Regions from separate parts of the Homo sapiens genome. Here all the other regions are linked to region 1. The links are contacts of gene promoters, found by promoter capture Hi-C in blood cells and fetal thymus (Javierre and others, 2016). All regions are on one chromosome and are shown on one strand. Each heading gives the region's core, a stretch centred on a gene start or on the middle of the fragment in contact. The rest is flanking DNA. Distances are from core to core; before and after follow the strand shown. Region 1 holds the start of FNDC3B (fibronectin type III domain containing 3B). Region 2 has its middle 5.1 kb from the start of ECT2. Region 3 overlaps NCEH1 (neutral cholesterol ester hydrolase 1). Region 4 overlaps NCEH1 (neutral cholesterol ester hydrolase 1). Region 5 overlaps LINC02068 (long intergenic non-protein coding RNA 2068).

Region 1 (2,508 bases), core at 4-2,503:
ACCTAGAATTGGAGTTATGTTATAGAAAGATGGCTTCAAGTTCCCCTTTGAGGAGCTCCACAGTAAATAAGCCATTTAGGAGAGAGGTCCCCATTTCTCTGGACTCACCATTGCCTCCAAAAAAAAAAAAAAAAGGCTAAAATCTCCCCAAAAGAATGGCAAATGAACAAGGGAAGGAAGGAGCTATTTCTTAGTGTTCTTTAGACTTTAACAGAGTATTATGTACTGCTATTATTATTTTTTAGGTTAACAAAAGTAATACATTGTCTCTAGTGACTCCCTGAATGCTCCTTTGTAGCTTAATAGTTGAGGCTGAATGTAGCTATTCAGAATACCTGGACAGCTATGGATGGAAGGGGCTTCTCTAGGCTAACTTTTGCTCTCTTGTCTCCTGAATAATCTGAGGGGTGGCATGGGATGCAGTCTGTTAACCTCTTAGAGCCTGTACAACAGAAATACATTACATTTGACTTAATATGAACTCAACAGTTATTTAATGAGTCCTATTGTGGTCCTTGCACTGTGCTATATTTTACGGATATAAAGATAAAAGTAAGAAACAGTCTTTGTCCCTGAGAAACGCATTGTGAAATAAGGCTGGGTGAGTTGGCTCACGCCTGTAATCTCAACACTTTGGGAGGCCAAGGCGGGAGAATCACTTGAGCGACAGAGTTCCAGACCAGCCTGGGCAACCTATTGAGACCCCCTCTCTTCCAAAAAAGGAAAAAAAAAAAAAAAAAAAAAGGGTGCGGTGGCTCATGCCTGCCCCGTGCCTGCAGTCCCCAAAACAAACAACAACAACAACAAAAAACAAAAAACAAAAAGAAAGAGGAAAGAGAGATTTTAACTTAAGTATAATAAAAATTGCTCATACTATGTTAGTTGTATGAATAAAATGCTGTGGGAAATGTGGGAGTAATATAGCTCACAAGGTTGCTGTGGGGGTTAACAACAACAAAAAGCGAAATATATGTGTAAATGAAAAAAAGTCAGTTTTAGGCTTAATTATCACTGAGTAAACATTGCCTTTATATTACTTTGGCGATCTGCAGAACGCGCAGCCCTCGCCATTCAGGAGTTGTTAGTTCCCTAAGCCTCAGGTTTCTTTAGTCTGGCTGAACCAAAAGGAGTTTCTGCTTAGCTAGGCAGGGCCGGGGGACAACAGCTTCTGCGAGTCTGCGATTGTGGCGGCCGGTATATTCGGCGGTTTACGGTAATGGGCGGGCCCCAAATCCCCATGTGGTCCCGACATCATTGACATGGCGGAATCCCCCATCAAACCCTCCTGGTAGTTATTTGAGCGGCGGCGGCGGCGGCTGGAGGAGGAGAGCGGCGGCGGCGGGAGCAGCGAAGGGGGCGGCAGGGATCCTCCAGGCTGCCGGCTGGGAAGGCGTGGGCGACCCGGTGTGTGGCGCGCCCAGAGCCCCGCGTTTCAGCCCTAGGGAAGGTAAGGCGTGCAAGAGCCGGGGACTAGAGGAGACCGGGACCCCGAGCGCGATCGCCGGGTCCCGGTGCACTGGAAAGCCCCGGCCTGACGCCGAGTCCGCCAAAGTGCGTCCCTGTCCCGGGAGCGCCCTGGGCTTCCCGGCAAAAACTTGGCGCCGGAGTGCTGGGGCGCCCCGTGCTCGCCTGGGCACCCCGGGAACACGGGACCCGGGAGGGGGCGGCCCCCGCCTTGCTGGGCTGGGGTCCCCCGCCTGTGCCCCCTGCCTCAGGGTTTGGAGGAGTGAAAGAAACGGGTAGATTCCTCTTAAAAAAAATTGGGCAGTGGCTCGCGGCCTCCCCCCACCCCCAGCCTTCCCAGCAGATTTTGTCCGAGGAATCCGCTCCCCCTCCCGGAATCTCCGCGGCAGGAACGCTGCCCAGGAGGGGGAGGGCGGGCGGCGAGGCCGAGGAATCTTCGACGTGTCACTTTCTGAGGCTGTAGATTTCCATATGGTGGAGGGAAGAGGGCGGGAGTGCGAAGTGGGGCTGGAAGTTGGGGCCGCCTCTCCGCGCCGGCGGGGGCGGTCGGGGGCCTCGAACCCGGGGATGCTCGCGGGGAGGGTCCCGAGCCCGCGCCGGCCTGGCCCCCCCGTCCCCGGCTGGGCCTCTCCGGGACACTCCCCGCCCCGCTGCTGGCCACCTCCGAGCACGCCACGTCCTCCTCCCCGTCCTGCCCCCCGGGCTCCCCCCGGGCTGGGGGCGGTAACCGGCGGCCGCGGCCGGACTTGGCGAGCCGGCGGCTGGAAGCTCGGGCGGGGGAGCGGGGCGCGGCGGGAAGGAGCGGGCGACCCGGTGTGTGGGCCAGCGGAGCTCCGGTCAGTCGGTCACCCCGAGGGGCGCCTCGGCCGGGGATAGGGCGGGCGGGCGGAATCTGCGCCCCGAGGCGGCCAGGAGGGGCCGCGCGGACCGTCTGGTGCCCGCGGCTGGGCTGGGGCCGGCAGGCGTGGGAAGGGCCTGTCACTCTCGGCAGAAAGTGGGGCCTCGGGCTGTGCCCGCGAACTTTCCCAGAGGTCCGGGTCCCGG
Region 2 (2,508 bases), core at 6-2,505, 710 kb after region 1:
CTAGGTATCCCTTTATAGCAATGAAATGGGCTAAGATACCCCATAATCATGGGGAAAGAGTTATCACATATTTTTAGGAAACATAGGGTTAGCCAGGTGTGATGGCTTATGCCTTGTAATTCCAGTGACTCAGGAGGCTGAGGTGGGAGGATTGCTTGAGCCCAGAAGTTCGAGACTAGTGTGGGCCAAACAGCGAGACACCATCTCTTGAAATTAAAAAAAAAAAAAAATTAGGTGGGTATGGTGGCACACACCTATAGTCCCAGCTACTCGGGAGGTTCAAGTGGGAGGATTGCTTAAGCCCAGGAGTTCCCAAGAGTTTGAGACTGCAGTGAGCTATAATGGTGCCACTGCCCTCTAGCTTGAGTGACAGAGCAAACTCCATCTCACCTCAAAAAAAAAAAAAAAAAAAGAGCAAGAGAAACACATAGGGTTAGAAAGCATGTTCTAATATTTAGTATGCAGATAATTTATTCCAATTTATACACAAAACCGTAACCAAGTTAATAAGTAGAAATATGCAGTAATAAGTCAACATGAACTTACTGACCTATTTTGATATCATGAACAATTGATAAAGCAACAGTAACAAGTAGAGAAGGAGTATTCATGGCTGCTAATTTACCGATGGAAAAAAAAGATGCAGAAACCCCAGCCAGCCTCTGACATGAAATAAGATATGGACAGAAATCAAACTACTAAAAAATCTGGTTATTTTCCCTTCTTTCCTCTTTTCCATAATTTTTTTTTTTTTGAGATGGGGTCGTGCTCTGCTGCCCAGGCTAGAGTGTAGTGGCTTGATCTCAGCTCACTGCAACCTCTGCCTCCTGGGCTCAAGAGACCTTCCCACCCCATCCCCCCACTCTGAGCAGCTGGGACCACAGAAGTGCATCACTATGCCCAGCTAATTTTTTGTAGTTTTGGTAGTGATGGGGTTTCTCCATGTTGCCACAGGCTGGTCTCAAACTCCTGAGCTCAAATGATCCGCCCACCTCAGCCCCCAAAGTACTGGGATTACAGGGGTGAGCCACCGTGCCCAGCCTCCATAGATATTTTTTGAGAGCACAAGTGCCAGGGTACAAAGATGGAAAGGATATGGTTCTTTTCCCTATTCTTGAGTAGCTCATATTTTAATAGAGGAGACAGCCATGTTAACCAATATTTCCAATACAAGGTGACAGGAGCCATACTGAGGTATAAACAGTATTAAGCTCATACAAATCAGAAGAAGCAGTTTACTCTCCATGGGATAGTCAAAGAAGGCTTCATTGAGGTGATGCTTGAGTGGGGTCCTGAATGAATAGGAATTTTCATGCAGACAGAGGGAGGCAGGGCAGGTGGAAAAGAATATTCAAAGGTAGGGATTTAGGAAATCGCCTGGAATGTTTGTGGACTGACGAAAAGTTCAGTATGGCTGAACACAGGGTGCGTATGTGGTAGGGATGAGGGTGATAGAAAATTAGGTTACAGTCATCTTGGGAAGTCCATCTTATACTGGACTTTATTCTGTGAGCAGTGAAGAAACCATGTCTTTTGGTTTAGTTTTGTTTTTAAGGAGGGGGATACATAGTCATATTTAGTTTTCTAAATGAAGATAATTCTGTGACTGATGACTGGAAGTAGAGAGAGTGATTAGTTCCCAAAAGACCAACTAGAAGGCTGTCCTTGTCATAGTTTGGATGAGAGATAATGAAGGCCTAAACTCGGGCAGTGGACTGAAGGGGGAAGATTCAGATTCTAGAAATATTTTTCAGGTCAAATTGGGAGAATGGTGTTGGGGTTGGTGGTGCAGGGAGACCAAGAGGAGGAAGGGAACAGGAAGATGACTTTGAGAGATCCAACTTGGGAGTCAGAGTGAATGGGGATTCTACTAATCAGGAGAGAAATACAAGAGGCAGAGGAGATAAAGGATGGAGAGCTGGGGAAAAGAAGAATTCACTTTAGCACATGAAGAGTTTGATAGGATTGTGGGTCACAGGAGCAGAAAAAATTGGTAAACAACTGGCATTATAGAGTGGGTTTCAACAAGGTCTGGCAAGAAAGAGAGACGTGGAAGCATATGCATATAACTTAAATCCCTGGGAATGAATGAGTTCACCTAGGGAAAGGGGGTTGCCTGAGAATAATACTTTGGGGAACAATAATATCTAAGCAAAGGAAACCGAGAAGGAAACATCAGAGAGGCAGGAAGAGAAGTAAGACAGTGAAAGTGGTGGTCTTTCAGCAGCTGAATTAATGACCATGGGTTAGAAAGGGGTGCTATCATTAGGGGGAACTGAAGGCTAAATATCCTTGATTCATGTGTGAAAGGGATTAAGAGATGGGAAGAAAATTTCGTAATCAGAATGGAATGTTTGAAGTTAACATTTGAGAGCTAAAGCAATTGAGTGTAAAACATTTAGGATATTGTCCATCAAAATAAGTGTTGAATTGAGGTTTTGGGATTCAAAAATTCAAGGAACTGTGAATCTAATTGGCTGGTTCATCAAAGGAAGAAAGACAGAGAAC
Region 3 (2,508 bases), core at 4-2,503, 660 kb after region 1:
AATTAACATTTAGTCAGAAACAGACACATAATTCATGACAAATTTGAAAACAAGCATAAATCTATTAAAACATGAGGAAGTTAGAAACCCAGAAAACAGCGAGGCTTGCAAAACACAGTTGTGAAGGACAACACAAAACCATTTTTGGCTACATTCAGAGTCAGAAGCACGTGGAAGCACAGGGCCTGCCCCTTGCGACAGACGCGGTAACACAGTGATAATGGAAGCAGAACCATGAATTCCTAATTTCTCTTTAGTCTCTCTATCGTGAATGGTCTTCAAACAAAAATAAAAGTCCTAAAGCAGTAAGAGGAAAATTATGTCAATGATAGGAGAGAAAATTTATGATTTGGTGGGGAGCCTGTACATAAGTAGCAACATAAGCAACATCTAAGGGCCATAAAAGAAAACCAAAACGCTAGCAGAGTGTTGAGAGAGAAATTAAGGCCAAGGAAGGGCAGTGAGAGGGAAAGAGACGGGGAAGTTCTCAAAAGAGATGATTTCTGAGTTGGTATTGAACGATGCGTGGGATATTGCCCAAAGTAAAAGGGTGGGAGGGCATCTGGGACAGAGGGGACAACAGGAGAAGCGTAAGCAGATTCACGAGCTGAACTGTCATCCATGACACAGTGAGGCTGCAGTCAGCAAAATGGTGCCAGGTTGTAGCAAGCACCAAGTGCCAGCCAAGGAACTTAGCACTTTTATTCTACAGGGGATAGGAAGTGCGGGTGGGGTGGAGGAGTGGTAACTGGAGGATTAACAGTCAGATTGGAGCACTCAGGACTGGGAACGAGGGATCATTTCACAGCCTTGACTTGATTAGGCCAAATGTGTGCAAGTCAAATAAATGCAGCCTGAGCATCCGTCCAGGTTTGACTGAGAATCACTCTGGTTTAAAACCATTGCACTGAGCTAGGCATGGTGCCTCATACCTGCAATCCCAGCACTTTGGGAGGCTGAGACAAGAGAATCACTTGAGCCCAGGAGTTTAAGACCCACCCTGGCAATATAGGGAGACCTCATCTCTACAAAAAATACAAAAATCAGCTGGGCATGGTGGTGTATGCCTGTGGTCCCAGCTACTTGGGAGGCTGAGGTGGGAAGATTGCTTGAACCTGGGGAGGCAGAGGTTGCAGTGAACCACGATCATACCACTGCATTCCAGCCTGCGCCACAGACACCCTGTCTCAAAACAAAGAAAAAAACACTGTTGACCTAGCATGATTATTAATAGCAGTCCCTGCTACTCTCAAAAATGTCCTGGTTTGGACAATAAATTATACGGCTACCTAAATACATGTAACTTGGGGACTATCTATCTGTGTTTAATAACAATGATAACAGACATATATTTTAAAAGTTACAAACTGGAGAAAGGTGAGCTTCCCAATAGGTATTCTACAAATGGATTACAGATGGGGCACTAGCTATCAATGTTTAAATATTTTATAGAGGTAAAAACTTAAAGCCATTTTGTATAACTATACAGAGTTGAATAATTGGCATCAGAGTTGGCATTCTATTTGAGAACCATTTGTGTAACTCTTTATAAATCTTGTGAATTCTGTTATTCAAGCTCATACAGATTTCCCCAAAATTGCTTCCAGAATCCCCAGTATACTATACAAATGTAATTGTTTCTATGACACAAAAAATAAGAAGAAGCACTGATATAGATTAATTGTGGGAGCTCAAAAAAAAAATCAGGACAAAAAATTCACTAGTGACTAAGTTATCATGAGTGTCCTCACAGCATAGCCCAGCAGGGAGGGCATGAAACTAAGAGTCCATGAATTTCTATTGCAGTTCCCATTTCGCCAGCATAACTGATCACATGTTTAAATTTAAAAAATTTTTTTAAGAGACAGGGTCTTGCTCTGTCACCCAGGCTAGAGTGTAGTGGTGTGATCATACAGCCTTCACCTCCTAGGCTCAAGAGATCCTCAGTCTCCCCAGTAGCTGAGATCATGTGCCACCACATCTGGCTAACTATGTTTTGTAGAGACAGTCTTACTTTGTTGCCAAGGCTGGTCTTGAACTCCTGGCCTCAAGGGGTCTCCTGCCTTGGGATTACATGTGTGAGCCACCGTGCCTGGCCCTGATCATACGATCTTGATGGTGTCCTTGAGCCTTTCTGAACCTCAAGTTCCCTTAGCTGACAAATGGAAATAACAATGGCAACCAGTTATTTATTGAAAAAAAAATGAAATGAGGTGATATTAGTAAAAACCTTCATAAAATCTAGAGTACTTTATAAATATGAGGTATACTAAAAAGTTATGTTAAGGTCTCATTTCTCTCAGGGATAGCCTCTTTTTCCACTTGCCACTGGTGTCCCTGAGGGGCACCCTTGGTAAAATCCTCCAGATCTTACTGTCACTCCAAACACATTCATTTCAACTACTTCTGCCACTATCCATTTGCTGACTACTCCCAAATCCATATCACCAGCCCAGCTCTGTCTCCTGAGCTCTGGATCTGTATATGCAGCTGTTTATGATCAGCCAT
Region 4 (2,508 bases), core at 5-2,504, 630 kb after region 1:
ATAAATGACTTCCCAGAGAAATGCATAGTCATATAAGATAAAACGTCTTTTTCTCTCCATTTTACTCAGAGTTTGATGATGAACTATGACTGGATATTGAAATAATCATTCTTTTATCCTTTGTAGTAAGGCTTACTTTGTCCAGTGGCAACATGATCAGACAAGCAGCTCTCAGATGACATGTGACAATATTAAATTCAATCTTAGCAAGCAGCTTCTCAATTTCACACTTGTGGTAGCTGGATTAACCCAATTATTTTTTGGAGGTTAAGGGAAACTTTTACATTTGCAGAATACCATCCTTCAGAAACCAGAAAGTAGGATTTCGTTAACTCAAAGAATTTTATGGAGATGGAAAGATCAGTTGGTATTTATTAAATTTTAGCACAGAATCAGATGGAGGGTTTAGGAAGAAGTAGATATGATTACCTAATAATTCACTTTGAGTTCTTCACTTTGATCCTCAAAAATGTGTGAAACTTGGGACTTTTACTTAGCATACCTTTCGGGTAAAATATTTTCATTGTACCAGTTCCAGGCTCTTGGTTCTAGCACAAAACCGCTGCTACACACACATACACATACACACACACACACACACACACATATATAGATATATATACAAATATATATATATGCTACCTATATATACACCTGCTACATGTGTGTATATATATTTACACATGCACATATCAGGTGTGTATAAATGTAGCATGTATATATACATACACACATGCACACAGGCACACACATACTTGTTACATATATAATTACACATGCACATATCAGGTGTATATAAATGTAGCATGTATATATACATACACACATGCACACAGGCACACACATACTTGTTACATATAGTCAGGTGCTGCATGATGACATTTTGCTCAAGAACAGATCACATATATGAGGGTGGTTCCATAGATTATGATGGAGCTGGAAAACTCTTATAACCTAGTGGCATTGTTGTCATTGTGACATTGTAGTGCAATTACTTAATTTTTAAAACAAATTTAGTGTAACCTAAGTGTACAGTATTTATAAGGCCTACAGTAATGCATAGTAATGTCCTAGGCCTTCACATTTGCTTACTACTCATTCACTGATTCACCCAGAGCAAATTCTACTCCTGCAAGCTCCACGGTAAGTGCCTTACACAGGGGTAGCATTTTTTAATCTTTTGTATCATATTTTGCTGTACCTTTTCTATGTTTAGATATACAAATACTTACCATTACATTGTAATTGCCTACAGTGCTGAGTACCAAGTTTCACCAAGTATTAGATCTACAAATACTTACCACTGCATTATAATTGCCTACATGTTGAGTACCGTTTCACCAAGTTGGACAGGCTAGTTTCAAACGCCCGACCTCAGGTGATCTGCCTGCCTTAGCCTCCCAAAGTGCTGGAATTACAGTGAGAGCCACCGCACCTGGCCAGGAAGCCCTTTTTAATACGCGTTTTAGAAGGCCTATGGAAAACCAGGGCCAAACCTCTCAATTACTCTAAACTGTCTATAATAGACCAAAAGCCAGATGAGAATCCTGTGGCCTTTATAGAAAGGCTGATAGAGGCACTAATAGAACACTCTTCCTTTTATCCCCTGATTCAGTGGAGAGACAGCTCATCCTGAAGGACAGTTTTATTACACAGGCAGCTCCCAATATTAGAAGAAAACTACAGAAGCAAGCTATGGGACCAAATAGCACCTTAGAGAACCTCCTGAAGGGGGCCACTTCGGTCTTTTATAATAGGGACCAGGAGGAGGCCCAAAAGAAAGAGAGAAAGCTCAGGGGAAGGACAAAGGCTCTAGCAGCAGCTTTGCAGGCTGGCAAAGTCCAGGAGCCCCAAGATGCATCCATTAGTTGCTATCAGTGTGGCAGGCCAGGGTATTTTAAAGAGGAATGCCCAGGCAGCAAGACGAAGCCACCTCAACCCTGTCCATCCAGTGGCAAAAACCAGTGGAGACAGAACTGTCCCCAGATATGGAGGTCACTGGGTTCAGAGCCAGTCTCACAGATGGTCCCACAGGACTGATGGGTCCTGGGGCCCAAACCTCAGCTCCAGCAGCTCAAACTGCCATCATAGCATAGGAGCCCCAGGTGATACTGGACATTGAAGAAAAGGAAGCAGACCTCCTTCTAAACACTAGACCCAGTCTCTCTCTTTTCTCCTCTCTAAGCCAGGCCTCCTCTCTTCCTATAGCGCAACTATAAGGGGCATTTCAAGAAAAACTCTAATCCAATATTTTTCTCAACCTTAGTTGTGGTTAGGAGGACCTATTTACAAATGCTTCCAAGCCATTGTCATAGTAGCTCTACTAGTCAGAAAAGCCTCCTAGTTAACCCTAGGAAATAATTTAACTGTTTACACCCCACATAATGTGGCAGGATCACTGTCCTCTAGGGGGAGCTCTTAGCCGGCAAACAGCCAGTGAAGCAAGAGGTACATAAAGCAGGAGAGGCAGTAGTCACTCTCCCCAAACACAAGCGCTCAATTGGCTGA
Region 5 (2,508 bases), core at 7-2,506, 540 kb after region 1:
TGACTTCCTTTCAAAAATTGCCTTATGAATTACCATATGAAATTTTTCCAGAATCTTTGAGGGACTTAACCTAAGATTTTCCCCTCAGTATACAACAGTGACTAGATTTTTTCTGCCTGTACAGCACTTCAACTACATGGAACAGGTTAAGTCTTGTTTGATAATTCGATTCGTAAAGGTACAAAATGATCATGAACATGCCTGATCACCATATCTGAAACTCACCCTAATCCTGTAAAATGAATACTACTTTCCTTCCTATTTCAGCCTCATCCCAAGCAAAAGAAAAAAAATTTTGAGGCACTACTTATTTTTTATTATGCATAAAAATTTACACATAATTATACATGTGACAAATGTAAAACAGCATGCATTCACCAATATAATATCGGAATAATTTCACTTCCCTAAATATCCTCCATGTTCTGCCTATTTATCCGTCCCTCCCCTCTAGCCCCTGGCATGTATTATAATAAATGTTTGCTTACTACCAGATCATCTCAGGGAGCACCAGTGACATGCAAATATAATTTTGGAAACAATGGACTAAAGTTGTTTAAGCCATGCACAAGTGGCTGCAGTTTATCAATCGAGGTAGCAGCTTGAATTTTTCTGAGAAAGAAGATTATTGTTTCTAAGTATAGCTTAAGTGGCAGAATGTGAGTCTAGAGATGCTGATACCCATATGTTACCACATGGAGAGAGGTCTCATAAGAATGAGGTCAACATGGAGGTGGGAGATGGAGTGGAAGACTGAGAGACAGAGAGAGAGAGGAGATTGATTTCTGACTGCATCTTTTAAGTACTTGGATTTAATTATGCCTGAATGCAGCCTTATCTTAGTCCCTAGACTTTTTAGTTACATAAACTGATACATTCTCACATTCAATTGAGCCAGTTTGAGTTAGGTTTCTGAATGACTCAAGAAGTCTTTATTCTAGAAGTTAGTCTATGGAAATGAAGTTTTACATGGGACAAACCCTAAATTGGATTTGTACAAGACAAGATGTATCACAGGAGGGTGGAAATCTTCCTATCCTGGCTGAGAAGGGAAGATCCTTGATAGGTGATAGCAAACAGTCAACTAAACTGTCACCTCTTGTTGTTGTTGTTTAGTAGACCTTATTTTTTAGGTTCATTTTTAGATGCACAGAAAAATTGATCAGGAAATAGAGTGCCCATATATTCCCTGCCCCTACAACTGCTTAGCCTCTCCCACTATCAACATTCCACACCAGAGTGGCACATTTGTTATAATGAATCATTATCACCCAAGGTCCATAGTTTGCATGAGGCTTCACTCTTGGTGTTGGTCATCTTATGGATTTTGATAAATATCTAATGACATGTATCCACCATTGTAGTATCATACAAAATAGTTCCGATGCACTAAATATCCCCTGTGCTTCACCTATTTATCTCTGTCTCCCCACTAACTCCTGGAAACTACTCATCTTTTTACTGTTTCCCTAGTTTTGCCTTTTCCGGAATGGCATATAGTTGGAATCATATAGTATGTAGCCTTTTCAGATTGGCTTCTTTCACTTGGCAATATGCACTTAAATTTCCTCCGTGTCTTTACATGGCTTGATAGCTCATTTGGTTTTAGTGCTGAATAATATTCAATTGTCTGGATGTACCACACTTTTTTTACCCTCTCGTCCACTGAAGAAAATCTTGGTTGCTTCCAAGTTTTCACAGTTATGAATAAGGCTGCTGTAAACATCCATATGCAACTTTTTGTGTGGACATGAGTTTTCAAGTCCTTTGGGCAAATTCCAAGGATATGATTGCTGACTCACATAGTAAGAACATGTTTAGACTTATAAGAAACTGCCAAATTGTCTCTCTTAGTCTGTTTGGGCTGCTATAACAAAATACTATAAACTGGGTAGCTAACAAATACCAAAATAACAGAAATTTATTTCTCACAGTTCTGGAGGCTGAGAAGTCTAAGATCAAAGCAGTGGCAGATTTGGTATTGGGTGAGAGCCTGCTCTCTGGTTCATAGATGGTGTCTTCTGGCTGTGTCCTAATATGGCAGAAAGAACTTGCTAGCTCTTGGGTCTTCTTTTTTTTTTTTTACAAGGCTGCTAATTCCATTCATGAGGGCCCTGCTCTCATGATCTATTCACTCCCAAAGATCCCACTCCCTACCATCATCATGGGGGATAGGATTTCAACATATGAATTTTAGGGAGACGTGAGCATTCCCTCTATCATACTGTCTTTCAAAATGTCTGTACGATTTTGACTTCCCACCAACATTGCTCCACAATCTTGTCAGCATTTGGTGTCATTAGTGTTTTGGATATGGGCCATTCTAACAGGCATGCAGTAGCATCTCATTGCTGTTTTAGCTTGCAATTCCTTAATGACATATGGTGTTGAATATCTCTTCATATGCATGTTTGACATTGGGATATCTTATTTGATGAGGTATCTGTTGAGGTCTTTTGCCTATTTTATTTAGTTATTTGTTTCCTTATTTTTGAGTTTTAAGAGTTC

What was found. Contacts are between HindIII fragments. The CHiCAGO score rates a contact against its expected background, and 5 or more counts as called.
Region 2: a contact is called between a fragment that was not itself captured here and the fragment with the promoter of FNDC3B in region 1, in 1 of 17 cell types (fetal thymus). The highest score is 5.1, in fetal thymus.
Region 3: a fragment that was not itself captured here is called in contact with the fragment with the promoter of FNDC3B in region 1 in 1 of 17 cell types (monocytes); the score reaches 5.2 in monocytes.
Region 4: a contact is called between a fragment that was not itself captured here and the fragment with the promoter of FNDC3B in region 1, in 1 of 17 cell types (fetal thymus). The highest score is 5.3, in fetal thymus.
Region 5: a fragment that was not itself captured here is called in contact with the fragment with the promoter of FNDC3B in region 1 in 1 of 17 cell types (neutrophils); the score reaches 5.3 in neutrophils.

Annotation. Positions count from the first base shown.
Region 1 is chr3:172,038,325-172,040,832 of GRCh38, forward strand. FNDC3B (fibronectin type III domain containing 3B) reads left to right here and starts at 1,254. Exons shown (of 26, transcript NM_022763.4): 1 at 1,254-1,447. RefSeq lists enhancers at 1,074-1,741, 1,742-2,408 and silencers at 1,327-1,506, 1,647-1,746, 1,927-2,176, 2,237-2,508. The HindIII fragment of the contact is 7,479 bases long and covers 1-2,508 here.
Region 2 is chr3:172,744,331-172,746,838 of GRCh38, forward strand. No RefSeq gene overlaps it. Among named protein-coding and RNA genes, the nearest start is that of ECT2, 5.1 kb to the right of the region's middle. The HindIII fragment of the contact is 7,459 bases long and covers 1-2,508 here.
Region 3 is chr3:172,698,673-172,701,180 of GRCh38, forward strand. The region is part of intron 1 of NCEH1 (neutral cholesterol ester hydrolase 1); the gene reads right to left. Among named protein-coding and RNA genes, the nearest start is that of NCEH1, 11 kb to the right of the region's middle. The HindIII fragment of the contact is 5,162 bases long and covers 1-2,508 here.
Region 4 is chr3:172,670,924-172,673,431 of GRCh38, forward strand. All of the region lies in intron 1 of NCEH1 (neutral cholesterol ester hydrolase 1), which reads right to left. All of the region lies in intron 1 of LOC124909457 (a long non-coding RNA gene), which reads left to right. Among named protein-coding and RNA genes, the nearest start is that of NCEH1, 39 kb to the right of the region's middle. The HindIII fragment of the contact is 8,224 bases long and covers 1-2,508 here.
Region 5 is chr3:172,581,126-172,583,633 of GRCh38, forward strand. The region is part of intron 2 of LINC02068 (long intergenic non-protein coding RNA 2068); the gene reads right to left. Among named protein-coding and RNA genes, the nearest start is that of LINC02068, 13 kb to the right of the region's middle. The HindIII fragment of the contact is 2,991 bases long and covers 1-2,508 here.